Regions from separate parts of the Homo sapiens genome. Here regions 1 and 2 are each linked to region 3. Evidence: promoter capture Hi-C in 16 types of primary human blood cells and fetal thymus (Javierre and others, 2016). All regions are on one chromosome and are shown on one strand. The core of a region is centred on a gene start or on the middle of the fragment in contact, and the rest is flanking DNA. Distances in the headings are between cores, read along the strand shown. Region 1 has its middle 16 kb from the start of MS4A4A. Region 2 has its middle 16 kb from the start of MS4A6E. Region 3 holds the start of MS4A13 (membrane spanning 4-domains A13).

Region 1 (3,540 bases), core at 293-2,792, 250 kb after region 3:
TCTCTCATGGACATATTTCCTTAATGTGTGATCTATAAGTCCAACACCATGAGGGAGGCTCTCAGGGTCGGGCTGGTTCAGGTTATTTCCCTTATGAGAGGCCAGTGGCTGTTCCACCAAGAAGGGAAGAAGCCAGGCACAGATGTTGCCACCTGGCCACTCATCCCGAAGCCTTCCCAAACCCTCACCTTCTGCAATAAGATCCATGTTCCAAAAAGCAGAGAGGAGGGCATGGTAATGTCTCTGGTGTGCCATTTATAACCCAGATTTTTCAGAATATGAGACCAGGTGAGATGTGCAGTCTCAACCTCTCCCTCTAGCTGTATCCACACCCTCCTCCATCATGCATGTGCTCACATTTTACAGAATGTGGGGAAAGACAGGAGAAGGGAGAGGAGAGTAGAGTAAATAACAATTAGATAAAATCTAAAATATGTTTTTCAGTTCACCAGAGTGCAGAGAATGGGGTGGGAGTGGACAAAAAAGTGGTATAAAGTTAGGATGGTACAAAAAGCACCCTTTGAAATTAAAGCACTTTAATACTATCTTGAAAATCAACTTGTGATGTTTTGAAAATTCATTCTCAGGTATCCTCACTAACACCTTTCAATATAAGTAATAATATCTAAATAATACCTACAAAATTTAGCAGATGAAAAAGCTAAGGGTCAGAGGGATGACTTGCTGTATCTACTAGATTCCCAGAGAATATGGGATAGAAATGGGACCCAACCCAGCGCTAGTATACAAGACCAGAGCTGGGAGTTGACTTTTCATAAGGTCTTCCCAGAAGACACCAGATTAGGTAGGAATTCAAATTAGGTAGGACAATTTCTTGTCCACTGCCTCCCTCTTGTGGCTCAATTAAATATGACACCTCAATGTCAAAATGAAGGGGATAATAGGAAAAACAGAAAAACTGGGTTATACATTCATTACCTTCATGACTCACGTGAATCACTTTCTTTCCCTGGGCCACAGACTTCTCATATTTCAGTGTAGAAAGATTTCCACGTCTCTTCTAACTCTGATGTTCTATTTTTATAAGATGTAAATCAGGTCTCTTATATACAGCCCAGTCTAAGCAAAGCATCTCAATATTGTAAGAACTGCCTGTGTGCATGTGTGTGCGTGTGTGTGCATGCATGTGTGTGTGGAAAGAGATGACAACAATTGAGACTACAGAGCAAGTATTAAGAGAACTGTTTGTATTTCTGGACTCCTGAAAATTGTGCACCACCTTCTACATGTCTTTGTGGTCAGTGGTGAACAGGCCATACCATGAGTGCTAGGAGAATTTTCCTGATGCCAGGATTTGAGCTTACCATTGCTCATTTACCCTAATTTCTTCCCAAAGATATGTTACTTTTGGGAAAGAAACTGGGGAAAGATTGAAAAGTAAATCCTAGCTTGCATTCCTGGGACAAATAGTCCCCGAGAGATATATAACTTTAAGCTTGGTTCTGAACTGAGATCATTGTCTCCTCTAGTAACCTGAAGCAGCATCAAGACATCACATCCTACTCTCTGTCCTTACAATAAAAGGCCTCAGTTTAGTATCCCGAAGTCCAACTTGGCCCTACCCTCCAGACACAGATATGAAGATGTAAAGAGAAGGCCAAAGCTTATGGAATAAATCCTACTCAGAAGAGAAGATAGGCACAGGGCCAGGTTCTATGCATTCTGGCTCAATACCAGCGGTAGAATTTAAAAAGCCTTTAGTTGCATCTGGAGAACTCCAGGTTCGTCTAGAGCAGTAGCTCTTAAAATGTGGTTCCCAGAGTAGTAGCATCAGTATCACCTGACATTGTGGTTGACATGCAAATACCCTACCCCAGACCTATTGAATCAGACAGTCTCGGTGTGCATTCTGTGTTTTAAGAAGCCCTCCAGATTTTGATACACACTCAAGTTTGATATCTACAGGCTTATAGCAGTAATTGGCAACATTGACTATACGGTAGAATCCGCTAAAGAGCTACAAAAAATTTTGACTCTCCAACCATAATCCATATTAATTAAATCAGAATACCTGGTAATGGGGCTCATGTGTTAGTACGTGTTAAAGTTTCCCAAGTTATCCCAATGCTCAGACAAGATTGAGATCCATTGCTCTAGAGGCAAAGGCAGACTTCTTGGAGAGTCTTTTGCTTCTGTCTCCATCCTTTCAGCTAACTAGTAGAAGGGCCCAGGCCTTTCTCACATTAACTTCTGTTAAGCAAGTTCTAGTCCCATCTCAGGTTTGTGCAGGTGATTTGTTTTTAAACATAAGCTTGGGACTTTAATTTTACCTGATTAAATTTGATCTGTATTCCAACGCTCATGTTCCAGACTTTTGGGTTGTATCTTCAATCTGGACACTCTCGTTTTATAAATTATACTTCTTGTTTTTGGATCATTTGCAAATAGGATCAGCAACTAAATTCTTGATGAAAATATTAAGTGGTTGAAGATCCAACCAAGAGACTCCACAAAGGATGACATTAACACCCCCTGCATAGGATTTCTACCAGATGACAATCCATATAACTGGTTATTCAGGGCATGGTAGGCAGCCATAGTCCTGATTCTCTGGTTTTCCATATTTAGGGTCAACCCTGAGCCATTTGGCTGAGACCAGCTGGGCCTGGGTGTCATCTGATCACCTTTGTTACAGGATCAGTCCCGAGCCTGTGCACTGAGGCCTCTTCAGTACTTCTTCTGAACTAATAATACAAGGTTCCAAATGTCAGATATAGGAGAAACCGAGTGTTGGAGTTATCTGGGCCTGGGTTTTTAAAATACAAGTAAGGACAAAGGATGTCAAGATGTATAACTCTGATGTTCAGTCTTCGGCTTCAGTCTTCCTCACTTGACTGTCACTCTAGCCCTGAAGCAAATATACCAATGCCATGCCATGAAATTGCCTCATGGGCATAATTGTTGTACATTCCGACTAAACACAATAAGAAGACGGCAGGGCTTGAGTTTCACCACCAGCCCCCAGATGACCGCATAACAGCTATCACATAGTCTTACTGAACTAAAGTACCTGGGAACTTGAACTCCAAGCTCTTGGTGCTGATCCTGTGAAAAGTGCAATGTTGCATGTCCTGTCCCAGCTTCCTCTTTTCCAGGGACTTTCATATCTTAACTGTTCCTCTTGTGGTGCTCTCAGAGCTTTTCTCCACCAACCACTTTTTTTTTCTTTTTGCATTTCAAAACACATCACTTTTCGTTTATTTCATTATACAAATTATTTGCTTTCAAATCCATTTTTTCATGCATAAGTGCATGGCCATTTCTATTTCTTTAGTTAAATTGTCTGGTCCTGCACTTCATCCATTTATATTTTTTCTATGATTACTATGTGGGCATTCTATTCTCATTTTCTTGCCATTCAGTCTTTTTTAACACAACGCATCACTTGTATTAGTTATTGTATACTCCATTTTAATTTCTGATAGTACTGTCTTTACTTCAACATTAGTCTTTATTAAAATACTTTTGGCTAGTCATACTCATTCCACATGGACATAAAGAACATTAAGTCAATTTCCA
Region 2 (3,475 bases), core at 274-2,773, 170 kb after region 3:
GGTGGATCACAAGATCAGGAGATCGAGAACATCCTGGCTAACACGGTGAAACCCCATCTCTACTAAAAATACAAAAAATTAGCCTGGTGTGGTGGCGCACACCTGTAGTCCCAGCTACTCGGGAGGCTGAGGCAGGAGAATGGCGTGAACCCAGGAGGTGGAGCTTGCAGTGAGCCGAGATTGTGCCACTGCAACCAGCCTGGGCCACAGAGTGAGACTCTGTCTCAAAAAAACAAAAAACAAAAAACAAAAAAACAAACAAAAAAAACAAAACAAACAAACAAAAACCACCAGGAAATTAGCAGGTTATCATCCTCAGTTTTCCTTCCATGAAAGATAACAGTGCTACACTGTAAGGGACATCAAAAGGGAAAAGATGAAGTAGCTGAAGGAAATAGGTTAGCTGATCAGGCAGCTAAGTCAGCAGCAAGGAAGCCTCAAGACATCTATGGACTTCAAGCCCCTCTAATCTGGGAAGGTTCCATAAAGAAATTAAACCTCAGTACTTCCCTGCAGAAATAGAATGGGCCACTTCTCAAGTGTATATTTTCCAGCTCTCAGGATGGCTACAGTCAGGATGGCAAACTCTACTTGCCAGTCTCTAGCCAATGGAAAGTCCTTAAAATCCTCCATCAAGCTTTTCACTTGGGAAAGGATAAAACTCATCAATGTGCCCAGAGATTGTTTTCAGGAGAGAACTTACCAAAAACAGCCAAACAGGTTGTTAATGCTTGTGAAATCTGTCTTAAAAATAATCCCCTGAACAGGTGGCTCCTTCCTCCTCAAACCCAAAGAATAGGAAGCTATCCAGGGGAGGACTGGCAGACAGACTTCACCCACATGCCAAAGATGAAGGGCATCCAATATCTCCTGGTAGGGACAGATACTTTCGCCAACTGGTTAGAAGCATTTTCATGCCATACAGAAAAGGCATCTGAGGTAATAAAGTGTTAGTTAATGAAATAACTCCCCGCTGTGGTCTACTTAAATACCTCCAAAGTGACAATGGCAGACAAAGTGAGCCCTTTTAAAATGCTGTATGGATGGTCTTTCCTTACCAATGATTTTCTATTAAATTAAGAAATCTCTGAGTTGGTTGAGCATGTAACCTCTCTGGCTCACTTCCAGCAGGAATTAACACAGTTAGCAAAAGCCCAACTCCAAGAAATAGGATCACCTTTATTTAACCCAGGAGATTTGGTATTGGTGAAAGCTCTCCCTTCTCTCTCTCTTCCTGACCCCAAGCTGGGAAGGGCCCTACACTGTTCTTTCAACCCCCTCAGCAGTAAAAGTTACAGGTATTAATTCCTGCATACATCACACTCCAGTCAAAGCCTGGAAAGCTGAGAGAGCAACCTCTGACAGCCCAGAAGAACGTCCTGGACATCAATGACAAAAAATAGGAGATCTTAAGCTGAAAATCATAAAAGATAAGTAAGTAAGTAAGGGCTACCCATCTTACTCAGTCCCACCTTTAACTCACCAGATACTTTTTGTCATTTCAACATTTCCTCTCGAGATTCGCAGCCAGATATTAGCACTTCTTTTTAACACATATTTGCAGGGAGATTTTAATTATACATGGGATTACATTTGTAACTTCATAGAACCCCAAGGAGAAATTCTACATCTTGGCGAGTAAAAGTTTTAGACGTAAATTATCTACTACACCACCTTTCCGGGAATTGATACATGCGCTCTACTATTTGCAACACAACTATACATTGTGGCACCTGCAATATGGAATTCCGGTTGGAAAATTCTAATTGCTGTAATATTCTGTCTAATTATAATCTTTATAGTAGAATTAATAATTGGGGGACACTTATGCAAAAAAAAGGTTCCTTTTATATTAACGCGTCTAGTAAAGTAAGCGACACCTGGTGGAGGCAAACTAGTATTACAAGCCATTAAAATGGCTAACAGGTATCAAACTCCACTGGCATGGTTATGGCCTATGGTACCCCCACTAATAATGGTAATCTTAATACTCATATTCAAACCCTGTATTCTAAACCTTCTTGTAAAATTTATCTCTTTTGGCCTAGAAGCAAACTTTAAATGGTGCTGCAGGCAGAACCACACACGGACACGCCTTTCTTCTGAGGACCGTTAGATTGAACTCAGGAGGAGCCCTAGCTGCTGTCCCCACTAGATGCCCCTTTTCAGCAGGAAGTAGTCAGAAAGAGTCACTGTCCAACACCCTCTAACAGCAGTTAGGGTTACTACTTCTGAGGGGAGAAATAACACAGGAGCTAAAAAGAAATTATTTAAGTAGCTAGTGAGGGTAAGGGAGTTCTCAGTAAGATTTTCTTTTTATTAAAAAGCAGCCCCCAAATCATTTCTTGTCTAGCAAAAGAAGCCTGAAAAATCCAGCTGCAAGAATAGATAAGCAAGCTGGAAGCTTGCAAAGGTGAATGCCAGCAGTTGTGCCAATAGAAAAGGGATACCTGGAAGCTAGATATATTAAGCATGGAGGTTCCCTCTTCCCTTTTCTTTGTCACCATGTGTGCAGCAAAAAAGCAGGCAATATGGTGCCGGCCAGGTGGAGACCCCATCTGCATAATAAAAGATTAGTGTGGGATGGCCAGCACTTCCCATGCTATGTAAATGGCACATCTGGTCCAACCAATCTACTATGCCTGATGTAAATCAGACACGACCTCCTCAGACTCATCTATAAAACCAGCCTCATCTTGCCCCAAACCCAGAAATCCATTCGGGATCCCTTCCTCTGCATGAGGAAGCACTCTTCTTTCTTTTAGCCATTAAACTTCTGCTCTTAAATTCACTCTTTGTGTGTCCATGTCTTCAATTTTCTTGGCATGAGACAATGAACCTCTGATATTACCCCAGACAAATGACAATGCTTCAATGGTCCTCTCCTGTGGCGGAAGGTGGCACCATGTGATTAATAGTGGGGAGGTGGATTTTCAAAGGAAGTACATTCTGTCTTTTCTGTCTTTCTCTCCCCCCCCCTCTCTCTCTCTCTCTCTCTCTCACACACACACACACACACACACACACACACACACTTGTTTATCCTCTACATTCTTTTAGGCAGAAGATGATATTCTTTATTCTGTGCTCAAATAACAGTTAGTGTCTTTATTCTGTGCTCAAATAACAGTTAGCGAAATCCCTAACTTCATTGTCATCTCTGTTTTCCTTATTTGACTATAAATATCTTGAAGCCAAATCATGTATCTTATTCACTTTGGTAGCCCTGGCATTAAAAGCATAGTGTCTGGTATCCAATAAGTATCAATAAAAGTTGAATGTCCACAATAGGCAAATAAATAAAAGAAATGGTGTGTGTCAGTGGGGGGTGCAAAGGACAGGGAGAAGACCTAATGAAACAGATTTGAAGATAAAGCTAAAATCAAAGAAACTGACAGTTCCATTTGAGACTGGAAAAAAAGAGCAGAGAAACTCTCTGAGTATCAGGATATCTGAGACAGTGAGTATGAAGTAT
Region 3 (3,529 bases), core at 118-2,617:
GGTTTTCTTATTTAAAAATGATTCTTAATCTAGAATCAATATGAGTTCCAGGAGGTCAGACCCGCCTACCCCCTGCCCCCAGGGAAAAAAAATGCGAAGGATTGTGACATGTACATAATTCTGGAAAGAAGATTCAGAGTTTTCATTCTATGCCAAAATGGTCTGTGACCCCAAAGAGGTTAAGAACCTCTGCTGAACAGTCGTATAGGCGACTTAGATAATTGATCTATGCAACATTCAAATTCAGAAGAAAAGTTCACGAGTGGAAATGTTTTCTCCCCTTTGGATGTGAAAAAGCATGATACTCATAATTCCTTGGTGTTCATTAAGAAAGCTAAACTGTAACTTCACATGTTTATAACTTAATAGAAGAGACAAATTTATAATCATCCTACTGCATAAATGTAAGTGCAGTACTCTCTTTTTTCCTTTTAAACCTTACTTGGATTTCTCTATTATCCTGTGTGTGTTGGTTTAGTCTGTATCCCCATATCTCAGCACATGAAGGAACATGAGATCAGTCAAAATTTGTAGAAGACAATCAACATTTGAAAAAAAAAAAACTTTTACCCTTTTGATTTAACCAAGTCTGTCCCCCTTTAGATCCAATATATCCGTTAAAAAAATGAAATAGTTCATGATCTTAAATTTAGTTAGTCAAAGTGAAATCTTACCCCTAAAACGAGAGAATCTGCTGTAGAGATTTGTTAAAGAACACATGCCATACTGCCAGCATTTCCTCTAGATGATTTTCTCTTTAACCTTTGGTGATGTCTTTATTAGCAAACTTCTACAAAACAGTACAAAGCACATATACATTATTTTCTTAGAAGAAAATACGTAAGTTTGATCCTTTCCTTATTGTTCAGTCACCACCTCTCCAAATTCAGAAGCAATAGCCTTCTTTCTTCTTTCTAGGCCTTAATATTAGAGGCATCAACTTTCATCCATCTGTTCTGAATAACAGCCTTCATAACTGAAAAGTCTCTCTCTATGACTAAAACATATCGGCATTTTACAGCTATCATCTCTGAGTAGTAAATAGTGCCTACTGTTTACAGAGTATGATAGGGAGAGGAACACCGTAATCAGCCTCCGTGTCCCTTTATGGCTTCTGACACGAAAGCACTCCAGCAAAGCGACATCACTACCCTGCATTTTACTTGTTCAAGGTTCCAAGGAGTTTCGGGGGGCGCTCGTCCAGGACCCAGTCCGAGTTCTCACGCCAGCGCCCAGGCCTAGATGAAGAGGAAGATCCCGGCTGGCAACGCGCTCAGCGCCAGGTCCCCAGATCTCGCTGAGCTACCATCACAGGGATAGCCAGGAGCCCAGCACCCGGCCGGCTCTCAGGCTCCTCAGGGAGTGACGGTCTGCAATGGCAACGGTGTGCTCCTCTTGCGCCTGCGCACCCACTCAGGAACTGCCGGGGCGGAGGTAGTGCGTGTGCGCAGACTCACTAGGCTCCTGGCAGCCATGTGGTCAGACACCCGGTTAACTACGTTTTGGTGCCTCTAGGAACGGTTTCTGCAAACCTCTATTCTGAGATTGCCCATATTGGTGCATTTCTTATACACCCACCTGCTGCACAGTGACCAGGATCACTGAGGAGAAGTCCGCCCTTCACCTTTTCTGTCTTCAAAGAAAAATTTTGACCACAAGAGCACCTTTGGAAGGTGCACTTTCGAGTGAAGTGGCTAAATCAATGGCTCACTTTTTTTTTCTTTAAACATAAGTAACTGAAGAAGGAAATTAGTGATGAAAGTAATACTTAACAAGACACCAGAATGACTTTTTGATCCACTTGCTGAGGCGGGTTTACCTTTTAGGTGACACGTGGTGTTAGTTTTCTGTTTGAGGTGTAGACAGTAGTTAAAACAGTGTTTATGAAGAGGTGCTTTAGATGAGCAGTACAGACCATCCTCTTAGGCAGCTATCATGACTTACTGAGGCGTTTAAAGTACCTGGAGAACAGCCACTCAATGGCATTTCTCATTTATTCATGGAAAATTTAAATTGACATTGTGGAATAGTTAAAATTCCAGCTTGTAGTGTAAATTTTTAGTCAATGATAGCCAGTGAGTAAAACACGCAGAAAACAAGACAGATTTTTCTTTCATAAGGAAATTTTCTATGCTTTCAACACCTTTATTTGCAAAAAGCTAAATCATGAGTGTGTCTAAAAGCCATCAAGATCTTTTATAGCCTGAAAAATCAACTGTAAATTGAGAATCTTAATTTTTAGTCTCACAGCTAGCTTCCTTACATTGAGACTCCAAAGTCCCCTCAAATCAAAGGAAAAAAAAACAAAAAAAAAAAGCCCAGCCTCTTCTAAAGTCTTTACATTCTGTATTGGTCAGTATGTCATTGAAGGTAATAGTTTTATTCTTAAGTAATATACCACTTCAGTTTCTAGCATTATTATTATTTTGTGAGTTCCTTGTCTATGAGCAGACAGGGCTCCGATAATATTAAGCATTCTCTTTGCTGTAGAAAGAGGAACTGTGTCTTCAACCTCAGGGTTATGGATTTTTTAGAATCCATAGTAGTAAGAGCCAGTTCTGATGAGATGGACCGCTATTGTAACTTGCTGCCAAGACTGATTGATTATTTGTGAGAGAAGTGACATATTTCTTCATTTAAGCTTTGGCCAACAGTCTCTGGAAATTATCATGGATTTGGTCATTTTTTTGGACTGGGGCCAAAATGTGTTTTCAGTATAAACATAGGCAAAAATAGAAGAGTGAGCCAAACTATGAGACAGGCATGGTTCCTTGGTACATCTTATTTCTTCTGCTAATATCACAGATCAGTAAAAGCAACATTGATTTTCTCAGTACCTATAAACTGGATTTGGAAATTCAGAATTCACTTTAATTTTTTATCCTTTGGTTGTTAAAAACTGTATTCTTCAGCAATGAAGAGGCAATCAATCAGTCATGGTTTGACATCCAATATGACTTTTATTTCTCCATGTGGATCATATTGTTAATTTCTCTTGAATTAGTTCCCAGTATACAAAAGACATTAGTGAAAATGTGCTGGAACCACAATGCCTATATAATGTTGTTAAAACCATTGTTGGGGATTATTACAAGGACCCTGTTGGCTGTGAGCCCTGATAAAATAACTTGTCCAGATTTCTTTGAGGAATTTTATTTATTTATACACTAGAGAAAACAGATGTTTCCTCTGTGTAAACACTAGGGTGTTCTAGTAAAGTAAAATGGAAATCTATGCAAACTGGGGAAACTAAACAATTGAATTCATTGTAGAAATGCAATGTCCATACATATGTATATTTATGTAAGGTATAATCTATATGTATGTAGGTATATATATATATGCTGGTACACACACATATATATAGTAGATTTCAGTTTTCATATGTTTACTATATCACTTATATACTATTCTTTAGTAAAATGCTAATTAATAGCTTAAACTTATCTTGCTTTTTTTCCCTTTCATTTACTATGTTGAGGCAATATGTTAAGTACCTTATATTGCTTATTTAAACTTCACCACATGC

Evidence for each region. Contacts are between HindIII fragments. The CHiCAGO score rates a contact against its expected background, and 5 or more counts as called.
Region 1: a fragment that was not itself captured here is called in contact with the fragment with the promoter of MS4A13 in region 3 in 4 of 17 cell types (total B cells, naive B cells, M1 macrophages and 1 more); the score reaches 8.5 in total B cells.
Region 2: a contact is called between a fragment that was not itself captured here and the fragment with the promoter of MS4A13 in region 3, in 1 of 17 cell types (total B cells). The highest score is 5.3, in total B cells.

The regions. Positions count from the first base shown.
Region 1 is chr11:60,263,119-60,266,658 of GRCh38, reverse strand. No RefSeq gene overlaps it. Among named protein-coding and RNA genes, the nearest start is that of MS4A4A, 16 kb to the left of the region's middle. The HindIII fragment of the contact is 168 bases long and covers 1,459-1,626 here.
Region 2 is chr11:60,341,705-60,345,179 of GRCh38, reverse strand. It overlaps a transcript of MS4A6E not described here. Among named protein-coding and RNA genes, the nearest start is that of MS4A6E, 16 kb to the right of the region's middle. The HindIII fragment of the contact is 1,767 bases long and covers 640-2,406 here.
Region 3 is chr11:60,513,230-60,516,758 of GRCh38, reverse strand. MS4A13 (membrane spanning 4-domains A13) reads right to left here and starts at 1,367. Exons shown (of 7, transcript NM_001012417.3): 1 at 1,152-1,367; 2 at 675-790. The HindIII fragment of the contact is 9,060 bases long and covers 1-2,643 here.